Linked DNA regions of Homo sapiens: region 1 is linked to region 2. The links are contacts of gene promoters, found by promoter capture Hi-C in human tissues and cell types (Jung and others, 2019). All regions are on one chromosome and are shown on one strand. The core of a region is centred on a gene start or on the middle of the fragment in contact, and the rest is flanking DNA. Distances in the headings are between cores, read along the strand shown. Region 1 has its middle 3.4 kb from the start of PCDH20. Region 2 holds the start of TDRD3 (tudor domain containing 3).

Region 1 (6,028 bases), core at 1,683-4,182, 1.0 Mb after region 2:
CCTTCCCCTCTTCCCCTTCCCCCCTTCCTTTCTTCCTTCCTTCCTCCCTCCCTCCCTTACTCCCTAGCTCCCTCGCTCCCTCACTCTCTCCCTCTTTCCCTGCCTCTCTCCCTTTCTCTCTCTCTTTCTTTCTCCTGGATTGCCTACTGGAAAACTGGTCCTTCATAAAGGAATTGTGGAAGAGTGTGGTGCCAAATGATTGCCTATCTTCTATGGCTTTGACACTGAATAGCTATGTAACCTGGAGTCACCTAACTCCTGGCCTTCTGTTTCCTCATTTATAAAATCAAGGCTAGTGGGATACTCCAGTGCATTAAGCCTCTGAAACACTTTTTGATCTGCAGGTTGCCATGTAAGTAATGGAAAAGCCCATGATTCGGCCTTTCCTTGAGAAGACATTTCTCTTCATCGCTAGGCTTCCAGATATCCTCTGCAGGGTCCTGAACATAAAACCTCACATGCTGAATGACCAGTGACTGAGCCTAGAGTGAAAAAAGGTCTTTGATACCTGATTTCCATATGCTTTCTGTAGGAACTACTTCAATTTTCCCCTTCCACCAAATGCTAACTAGAATATAAATTGCTTGGCTGAGCTAACTGTTTTGCTTCCTATCCTTCCTATTTTCTCCTCATTTCTAATAATCCTAAACACAGAGTCCTAAATATGGACAACACACTACATCAAAACACCTGGAGGGTAACAGCTTGTTATTGTGCAAATGGGGCTGTACATGGAGTTCACAAGTCTCTCTATAATACAAATTTGGCATACAATTTGAACCTGGCTGGTAAAATCAGTTCCTTCAAACCCTTTACAGTGAAAATGGAGCACTGATGAAGTGGTAAACCTCAGCCCCCAATCACCATCACCCCACCCCTCACCCCCCTACCCCTCTCCCACTCCACCTCCTCCCCACCCCACACACACACTCAAAGGAACATGCACATCTGAGTTGAAGGTTGGTAAACAAGCTGCAGCCAGGGAAGCATGATCTCCCTCCTTGTGCTTTTTAGCTGCTGGTTCTGCCCTACAGCTGAACTTTTGCCATATTAGTAAATATTTACTTTGAGGTCTGTAGTTGAAACATACTTGACTCCCCAAATCAGTACCAAGCTGCTTCTGAAACGTGTTTAACTTACATCTTTATACAATACCCACAGCTTCCCGAAGTTGGAGGCCCACGGCCAGAGTTAGGCAATCTGTCAGCAGTCAGAGAACCTGCAGTCTGCAACAATTCTCCCCCAGAGACAGAGCAGCAGAGTGGGCTGTTTATCCGCTCACAGCTCATGCCCTCTGCAACAAGTTAAGATCATCCACCTTTTTGGTGGAAACGTAGGGAGCTATTTTCTTCATTTTTCCTTTGTTATAAGGACATTGTACAGGAGCTGTTGTTTATGATGATAGTCCAGGTGAAGTGACATTTTCTCTTTGTAATTATATCTCAAGTTTTTACTTTTCCCTGGCCCCTTACTCTCCCTTTCCCTACTTTGCAGTGGTTGCTTGTAGTACAGATGCACTTCCTTTTTAAAGTGTTTCCCCCAGCCTACACCAGCAGAATCTTCGTCTTCTGACCCTATCACCCAGCTGGTCTCTGTGGAAAGGGTTATTACCACACCTCCCTTTATTAAGTTGAAAAGAAATTAAATATACCCATTTGGCCATAATTATTCTCTAGAGTGTTTCTAAAAACCATAAACATGAATTATAGCAAAAGTTCTTCATGTAAGTTGAAACACTAGTATTGAACACATCTTGAAAATAATGTTTGGAACGACACTAACAACCACATTTGCTTTAAGTGACTACGGTGATTGCAAAGTCCCTGCATGGAAGTTTGTCATCAAGATTGGGAGATCTTGGCATAATATTGAACAATACCTTCCACGTCGCATTTCAAACCATTCACTGAACTACTTGTTATTATCTTTCCTCTCTGAAAATCCAAAGGTTTTACACAATGTTTATACCCTAATTGGGCTTAAATAAAATAAAAAGGACTAAATAGACATCTTTCTTCCCATGTATCCCTTCTCTGGGCCTTGTGAAAGCATTCCCAAACTCTTATTCCTTATGATGCCAGCCTGCGACCTACCTTCTGGTGTCACATATTTCTAACGATGACTCAGAAAGCTTCTATGCTATTAGTCCCTTGAAAATAATACTTATGAACTTCTTAGACGTCTCAATTGCTCTGGGCCTGCTTCCCACATGTTTTGTAAAAATCGATCTAGAAGAATAGTTAGATTATATGCCTCCCAAGCCTATTTTTCCTATAGACAAGGAAAACAGCAGGATACAATAGACGGTGCACTGAGCTGAGCCAGAGGAGTGGATTACATTCTCTGGGTTGTTGCTAAGTTCTGTGTGACTTTAGACAAGTCATCAAACTTCTCTGTTTCAATTTCATAAAAAAAGACCCCTACACACTTCATGCACGTATATGCATGAAATTGCTTACCTCATATCTGGCATTAACAGACACTGCATGCTGATACACGGGTTAACTTGATTATTACTTATTGCATTCTATCACTAAAACATACTATTTTTCATTTACTGCAAGCCTTCTTTTTGTAATTTTATTATCTCCACTACAAAGATGTGAGCAAGATTATAAGTATATATCAAGATACCATCTTTGCCTGGGCGCGGTGGCTCACGCCTGAAATCCTAGCACTTTGGGAGGCTGAGGTGGGCGGATGGTCTGAGCTCAGGAGTTCAAGACCAGCCTGGGCAACATGGTGAAACCCCATCTCTACTAAAAATACAAAAAACAAACAAACAAACTAGCCGGGGCGTGGCAGCGTGCGCCTGTAGTCCCAGCTACTCTGGAGGCTGAGGCACGAGAATGGTGTGAACCCGGGAGGCAGAGCTTGCAGTGAGCCGAGATCGCACCACTGCACTCCAGCCTGGGCTACTGAGCGAGCGAGACTCCATCTCAAAAAAAAAAAAGATGAGGAAAAAAGATACCATCTGTAAACTTTTTACGTTTTAAATCTTTAAAAAAAATTTTTGAAGCACTATGCTTTACAGGTAGTTTTATTTGTATTTCTCAATTAAATCTATTTCCACTATTTAGATTAGTTTAATAATATTGTGGTATACACAAAGTTTCATGTAATCACTATATACACAGATATTTAAAACTATCTTGAACCATAACCGTGTACATGTTCTGGTTAATTCATAATTGCAAATAAATATAAGTTTAGAATATTACCTTATTTTAAGGCCATTTCTCTTTGTCTTAATAGAATTTTTAAAATTAGAAGTCCCTTTTGATGAATTAAAATATATGTACATGTGTACACAAAATATATTATTAATATATAGGTACATATGTAAAAGTGTAAAATATACCACATATAAATATAACATATAATAAATATATATACAATGAAATATTATATCTGTATTCTTTTTTGATTCAATCATCAAGGTTAAAAGGATGATTACATTTGAAAAACCAATAAAATACCTGAGAAATGATAGATTGGTTACCTAGTGTCAATTATGTTTCAAACATGCTACTAGGTGGTTGACATATGTAATTTAGTTAATCCTCACAGCAGTTTTATAATATAGTTATTATTATACCAGCTTTATAGCCATACATAACATGCTAGTCCAGAGCCTGATCTGTGACCTTCAAAATATGTGATCTTTCTACTCTGGTATGCCTTTCTCATCAGAATGGGAAAATAAAGGGCCCACACACATTTAAATGTATTTCTATTCAACAAACATTTATCACTCATTTAAAATAAAAAAAATTGGAGGCATAGATGTGTTATATGATGCCTTTTCGAAGGAAAGGATTCTTTAGTCCATTACTACTTCGTAAATAGATACATACACATGGATATAACTTGTCTAAGCTGTGTGGCTAACTTAAATCTCCCAATGTATACATGTAAAATATATAATGTGTGTATAGCTGTGTGTATACTTGAAAGTACTGAAAAGCTTTGGATAATTTTAGGGATCACCTAGTTAGCCCTCATTTTACATGCTAGGTGACAGTAAGAAAGATGACTTATAGCTGACTCAAATTATGAAAATACTCCCATTTCTTATAATAGTACTAGATTTTAACCTCACAATTGCTCTGATATTAGAGGATAACCTGTAAAAACAGTATATTTTTTAAACCATCTACGGTTAAGATCAAAAGCCTTGATTTTAAGAGTTACTCTAAACTTTATTTTATTTTATTCATTGTTCAAATTTACAAATATTTACAAATATTTTTAAGTAACTACTGAAGTACTAATTATTTTTTAAGTATATCACACAAACTGAAAAAATCCTACTTCATTTCCCTACACGATTCAGAAATTAATAGTGAGACTAACAGGGAATCAGCAGTGAGGCCTTTTGCTAAAAAAGCTGGACAGTTAATTCAGTAAATAAACATACATTTACACACTTGCAAGAAGAAGGTCCAAATGAGCTAATTTACTATAAAACTTGTATTCTAAAACATTTACTGCTGTACTGTGCAACTTATACATGGGACCTTTGTAAGCATTATTCCGTCCTGATGACTCTTTTTTATGTTTTAGAAAACTTTGTGTAAATAGATTGTACATTTCTCCTCTTTCCCTATATATTCCAATAGGAAAGAATAAGATAGGATGGAAGGGTCCTTTCATTTCAGAACTCAATTAGCATCACTTTAACAGGGATAAAAATAACTGTGTGAAGTCATTAGAAAACCCCAGGCCTAATTTTAGCTAACATTTTCAACTTTTCCTCCTTATCCTGAAAATAAATTTTAAAAGTCATTTTCAACTCATTTTAATTTCACATTCTTCCTTCTCACCTCTGGTAGAGGTGATAATGAGCAGCGAAATCATCAAAAGAAAGGTGGTGGGATTGAGGAGGGAAAGAAATGAAGGGCATAGAAAATTCCACGAAGTGGATCAGGAGTTGCCGAATAAAGAACAGTTAACTAAATGTGGTTTATTGATGATGCATATGCCTTACTTCCTGGAGTCCATCCCTGGGAGATTTGAAAGAAGGAAAAAATACAGGCTGTGCAAAGAATAAAGCAATCGTAAACCCTCTGAATTAGCATAGAAATTAGGTCAGGGCCAAAACAAATCTATTGAAGGAGAGAAAGAATTTTAAATTATGTTTTAGGAGACCGATCGTCTATTTCTTCAGATACCTATTTTTGATTCTCACAAATTTAAGTGTTACATATGGGAAAGTTTAATGAAAATTTATGCTCAAGTAATGTTTTTATACCGATCAACAGATCTTTTGACTGGCTTGATAAAATCTCTTTTTATCTGACTCTGTGAGCCTAAAGTGCGATTGTTAAAAACTGCATGACTGTTCTAATCTCAGCATGTGTGGCATATATAAAGGCATTGAGTGAGTATCATAGGGTCAGTAAAAGACTTTGTCAATGATGTACGTAGTCAATATTTTCATGGCGAAAATATGAAACGCTATGATCACTAGCTACTTCTTTCTTGATATCTCTTTAGAAGGAGGTAGAGTTTGCTGATCTCAATTTCATTTACTGCTAACAGCCAGCAATATTCAGCACCTAACTTTCACCAAGTGCGTGGTGGACATTACATTGAATATTCACAAAGTCTCTGCAAGTTAATGATGACCCCATTTTACAGATGAGGAATAGAAGGCTTTTAGAGGTTAAGTAGGTTCTTGTGGTCACACAGCTTTGGAAGTGGCTAAGTTAGGAGGAACAAGGAAAATTTGAGTTAGTTTATTATAATGTTGGTGAGCCTTTTAAAAACAAATATGGGCGATATTCTAATATTAACTGAAGCAAGCACATATGTTGAATAAGGAATATGTACACATTATAAATAATGCATATAATCTGATAGTAAGATAACCATTTCAAAAATACCAAACATCTGGAAAAAATTAAACAATTATAAACTTCCATAAAAATGTACATAAGCTATACTTCTGAAACAATGAGTGCTCTGTTTTTTCTAAATTATTTGAATTATCAAGAAAAGAATGTGGGTTTTGTAACAGAATTTT
Region 2 (5,690 bases), core at 1,951-4,450:
TTGTTTTCATGTCTCTTGCATCTCTTAAATCTGAAATAATATTTTTTTTTTTTTTGAGACAGAGTCTCGCTCTGTCGCCTAGGCTGGAGTGCAATGGCGCGATCTCGGCTCACTGCCAGCTCGGCCTCCGGGGTTCCCGCCATTCTCCTGCCTCAGCCTCCGGAGTAACTGGGACTACAGGAGCCTGCCACCGCGCCCGGCTAATTTTTTTTTTTTTTGGTATTTTTAGTGGAGTCGGGGTTTCACCGTGTTAGCCAGGATGGTTTCGATCTCCCGATCTCGTGATCCGCCCGCCTTGGCCTCCCAAAGTGCTGGGATTACAGGCGTGAGCCCCTGCGCCCAGCCTTCTTTTTTTTTTTCTAAAGAATTATTTCTGGCCGGGCGAGGTGGCTCACGCCTGTGATCCCAGCACTTTGGGAGGCGAGGCGTGCGGATCACGAGGTCACAAGATCCAGACCATCCTGGCAAACACGGTGAAACCCGGTCTTTACTAAAAATACAAAAAATTAGCCAGGCGCGGTAGCAGGCTCCTGTAGTCCCAGCTACTCGGGAAGCTGAGGCAGGAGAATCGCTTGAACCGGGAGGCCGAGGTTGCAGTGAGCCGAGATCGTGCCACTGCACTCCAGCCTGGGCGGCAGAGCGAGACTCCCGTCTCAAAAAAAAAAAAGTCTTAAATTACATTTTAACAGTCTAGGCCAGAGGAGAATATGCCTCATTGTGGATTTATGTGCCTGCGTCTTCATGTTTAACTTGCTCAAATATCACCTATACGTCCTTTACATTTCTTCTTACATCTAGACCTTAGCATTACTGACATTCTGGGCCACATCATTCTTTGGAGTTCAGCGATGTCCTGTGCTTTGTAGGATATTTAGCAGCATTCCTGCTGCATCCCATGAGATGCATAACAACACTCCTACCTCCTCAGATTGTGACAACCTAGACATTGCTAAATGGATTTGGGGGTGTGGGGGTTGGTTTAGGATCCACTGTCCACAAGCTTGGTTAAACTCAGGTTAAACCATTTTGGCAAGAATACTTCTTAAGTGATGTGTATGTCTAGTTGCATTACATCAGTAAGCAGAATACATTAGATTGTCCCATTATTAGTGATTCTAGCTTTGATCTCTTAAGGCAGTGATTTTTTTTTTTAAAAGGTAAAGCTACATTTTCCCTTCTGTAATAAGTAAGTTATGGCTTGAAACTTTGAGACCATGTGAAGATCCTGTACTCCTAGTCTTTTACCCTGTGGCTTTTAGTATCGTCTGATAAATTTTCCTCTATCAATTGTGGTTGACTTGGAAAACTGTGATTTTTCTAATTCTATCATTTGTTCTACATTTACTATCTTGTATTGCTCTGAAAGAAAAGATTTTGTCCTCCTTCATTTTTGGTGGCACTCCGAAGAAATTCAATGTGTTTCATCAATTATTGTCACCATTTTTTGGATGCTCATGTTGTCCCACATTTCTCCAGTAAAAAACCCATTCTTTAAGAGAATTTAGTGTTTTGTGGAGTACTTTATTATTGTAAGGACCATGCAGTGGTAAATCCTTACTGAATCACACGACATGTGAGAACAAATGACTTTATAACCAGTGAGAAATTCTGATGATTGGTACAACATATTTTCATAGTTAACAGGTTACACTAACTGAAAAATGTAAATAATTGGTAACAGAAAATTCTAACCGCCAATAAAAATTATTGGCAATTTATTTTTGAGTCATCTATTTACCTTTAAAATGGCATATCTATTCCTGGCTCCTGTATATGATGGCCGATGACTATAAATTGAAATATACCTGTAGCATACGTATGACTTAAACACTGCATACTACTGCACATTGCAGCGAACAGGATGGAGCTACTTGTGATCTAAAATTATCTAAACAATATACTTGGGAGCAAATCTCAATAGCATTCCATCTAACGAAAGCATCGCGATTTTATAACTATGACTTTTGGGAAGACCAAACGGAATACCCCAGCTGAAATGAGAAAAATCTGTATTAAGGAATTTTAGCTCCACCCAGGGCAATTATCCCCTTCCTTCCGTAACTGCCAATTTCCTCCCCAATCCCAAGAGCGCCTCTGCCCAGTTCCGCAGTCTCTGCTCCAAGTCTGTTTTTGATGATGCCCTTAGAAGCAGGGGCAGCGGCAAGCGGCGGAGATAGGGATTAAGTTCCTAACAGTCTTCTTCCCCTGACCTGGCAGATGGGGACGCTGCCCCTTAGAAGCCTTTTTCCCCGCAATACGGGACGCCGCAGAGGTGAAAGACCAAGAAGGTGGAGCAAACTTTTAGGGAGCGCCTCTTGGGCCCGCGTACCCTTCCGCCTGTTCCTCTCTGATTGGCCAGCGTGAGTCACGGACGCCCAATCGCGCGGTAGCGTCCGCCGTGCCGCTGGGCGACGGCGGCGCGCATGCCCACTCAGGGACCCACCCTGCGCCCCAGCCCTCTACAGCGCGGGCGAAGGGCATCGGCGGGGAAGCGGCTGTGGTTGCCAGATCTGGCAGTACAGAGCCAAGGTGGCAGGGCCGCGCTAGGACACGGATGGTCCCAGGGGGAGGGCAACAGGAAAAACAAGCACTGACACAACTGCCCCATTTCCCCATGTCCCCTAAAAGCAGGTTTTCTTGGGCTGACCAGGGCATTTTCACTGTGGTGTCCGACTGGGGCAACTCGATCTGCCCGCGGGGACTCAAAAAAGCTTGAGCTGCATTTTTTCTTTGCGTCCGGGCGGACCAAAAGGCGAGGTGAAGGGAACGAGTGTTTATAAGAAAGTAAACTTTTGTGCAGAATGGGCTGGGGACACCTCTGAGTTTTGCTGCCCGCAACGTGACCTTTTTAGCGCGGTCCTGGACGCGTTCCCTCGCAGCCAACCCGTCAGTCTCCTCAGGCCTTATCCTGCCCTCTCTGAGGTGGCCGCCTGTGGGCGCTGCAAACGCCACACTTTTGCTCTACGAAGAACCTCCTCGCGACTTTCCAAGGTGTGCAACTCAGAAAAGCGCCCCCCAAAACAAGTAAAAGCCTTCGGGGAAGAGGCAAAGTCCCTGAACCGTCCTGACTCCAGCCACCAGCCGGTGTTTGGTGGATCAGGTCCCGGAGCTCCGCAGCCTGGGAGCCCCACACCAGGCCGGCCCCTACGGCCGCTCAGAAAACGCGGCGAGCGGAACCCGCACGCGGAAGCGCCGGCCGCACTGAGCATGCCCAGTTGCAGAGCCGACCAGAGGAGTTTTTTCTTTTCTTTTCTTTTTTTTTTTTTAAGGGGGGGGGTCTCAAGTAGGAGGCCTCCCCATCACCCCCACCCCAGCCCCCCACCACCCCCGGCCTAAGCAGCTACCATGGCCCAGGTGGCCGGCGCGGCGTTGTCCCAGGCGGGTTGGTAAGTGGCGAGTCCCGCCGGCTGCCGGGCCGCGGGTGCGGGCCGGGGCCCCAGGGAGGTTGGGTTGGGGGCGGCGGGGTGCGTGTCGGGGTAGGCGGAGGCTGTCGTCCGCCCCCGGCCTCTCCCCGGGCCCTTCGGGCCGGCTCCGCCCCCGGCGCCACGCGGAGCCCTGCGAGTTCCCCTAGGTCCCCTGGAGGCGGCGGCGGCGGCGGCCTGGGCCCCGGGCGGCGGGCCTGGGCCCCGGGCGGCGGGCGGCGGGCCTGGGGAGAGGCCGGGGGCCGCGAGCCGGGCGGGTGGCGGCCCAGACCCCGGCCGACCGGAGCGCCGGGGAGGACCTGCAGCGCCGTCCGCGCGGCTTCTCCGGGGAGGGGGTGTTTCTGCAGCGGGATCGGGAGGCGAGGGCTGGGAACGAAGTGCGGCGGAGAGGGACGAACGCGGCCGGAGCCCGCGGGCCCATAGGAAGTTGAGGGCAGAGCAGAGCACAGCCCGCGCTGCGGCCGGAGCCGCCTCTTCTTACCCCTTATTTCAAAGTACAGTGTGGACCAGTGTGAATCTGCCTTCCGCGGCACACACACAACTTCTGGAGCTAAGAATGACCGCAATGTCAACTCGTGGGGGTGCTCGGTAGAACTTTTCTTGAAAGGATGGTGTTCTGATTTTAAGAGGCCTTTCGTGTCAAGATTTTCAGGATTTGAAAACAATACAAAATTATGCGAAATTAGGCAGTTTCTGGAATTGCGGCCATTACGGTTGTAATCATCCCGTTTAATTCAGTAACGCTTTTCCCAGGCTTGCACAGGCACATTCTGGGATGAAGGGTAGGAACGGGGATGAAAAAGATTTGCAACGGCTCTCTGCAATTACTGCTTTAGGAGAAAGAGTGAGGCATTAAAAGACCAAACAAAACCAGGGGGAATAGTGATAAACCGTACGTACAGAGGAACAGATGAGTGCACTGTGGAATGGGAGGGAGAGTTACTTTCCTAAAGTGGACTTGGAAAGATGGTAAGGAAAAGGCTTTCTAGCACAGAGCTGCTGGAGATGACACAGGGAAGCGCTTATTGTTTTGCAGAACCTACACAAGATCTATATGGTTCGTGAAAGATGTGGATTTGATTTTGTGAATAAAGTTTTTGATCAGTAGAGGGATATAATCACAACTGTGCTTTGAAGAAGCCCCTCCTGATTTTAAAGGCACTTGTGTTATTATACACCCCATTTTACAGGTGAGGAGACTGAGGCAAAGAGCTGTTAAGTAACTTTCCCAAAATGACATAGCTAGAAAGTGGTGGAGTTGAATGTTGAGCACAGAGGGCCTGGCTCTGGGCCTGGTTCCTTTAACGCTTATGCGTTATTGTTGTTACAGTTTTTTCGCAGAACAGCATGGGCGTAAAAGATTGTAGAGTTAAAAACACTGTCTTCAGTTTTGTTTCTGTTCAATAGGAATCTCTTCTTTCAGTTTTTTTACCCACAAGGGTGTCCTGAATAATCTTGGATCCCTCTTTCATTTGCCTTTCTCCCCATTTCTCATTAGGTTGAGCGTTGATCCTTCACACTAGTAATATTTTCATTTACAAACTCAGTATTTTACTGCTTTCCAACATGACCCCCCCTCCTTTGGAAAGATTAGTCTCATTTTTTAGGTCCCGAACACGTGTTGACTTTGTTTTCTCTGGCCTCTTATGCTTTTCCAGGGCAGGGAAGTGAGTCTTATTTTTCTCCTTATCTGGATTGTCAAGAAATGCACCAGATTGTAGGTTCTCTGTAAAGTCTAATACAGTTGACCTTGGAATGCCCCTGCCAGTCAGAATTCTCTGGGCAGGGCCTCTGCAGAAGCTTAGGTAGAGTCCCACCCTGCTTCGTTATATTGTTATAAATCTTCAGCAATGTTATATTGTAGCATTTGCTACTTTATATTGCAACTTAACTGTTTATGTTTCTCCCACCTGTCTGTGCTGCTTCTGTATGGCAGTGACTCATAAAGGCAGTAGTAATCTGCGGGGCTAAAAACACTATCTTTCTAGGAATTGTGAGTTTCATGTAATTCCTGCTAGGTCTCGAACAGACTAGGCATGAGGATCTCCTAGGCTTTCAGGTGGCTTCTACTAGGTCTTTAATTGGGGACTTACTATGTTAAAATTTAGAATCACAAAGGTTTAAAGGCAGAAAAGAGCACTGGAGGGAAAATTTCTGACTGAAGGGCTTTCACCAACTCATTTTAGTTCTTATATCCTGAGTTTGCTCTTACACTTGGGGTTCTCTGTTAACTGTCACTGACAAACCATTTTTCTTAGTATTCAAATC

Evidence for each region. The method cuts DNA at HindIII sites, captures the fragments that hold promoters and counts their contacts. A contact is called where the count stands out against the background at its distance.
Region 1: a contact is called between a fragment that was not itself captured here and the fragment with the promoter of TDRD3 in region 2, in 1 of the 25 tissues and cell types used here (dorsolateral prefrontal cortex).

The regions. Positions count from the first base shown.
Region 1 is chr13:61,416,199-61,422,226 of GRCh38, forward strand. No RefSeq gene overlaps it. Among named protein-coding and RNA genes, the nearest start is that of PCDH20, 3.4 kb to the left of the region's middle. The HindIII fragment of the contact is 4,402 bases long and covers 732-5,133 here.
Region 2 is chr13:60,394,020-60,399,709 of GRCh38, forward strand. It overlaps TDRD3 (tudor domain containing 3), which reads left to right and starts at 3,201. Exons shown (of 14, transcript NM_001146070.2): 1 at 3,201-3,386. The coding sequence starts at 3,346. RefSeq lists enhancers at 2,123-2,192, 2,523-2,852, 2,561-3,073, 2,923-3,122, 4,003-4,052 and a silencer at 3,263-3,832. The HindIII fragment of the contact is 4,558 bases long and covers 1-3,966 here.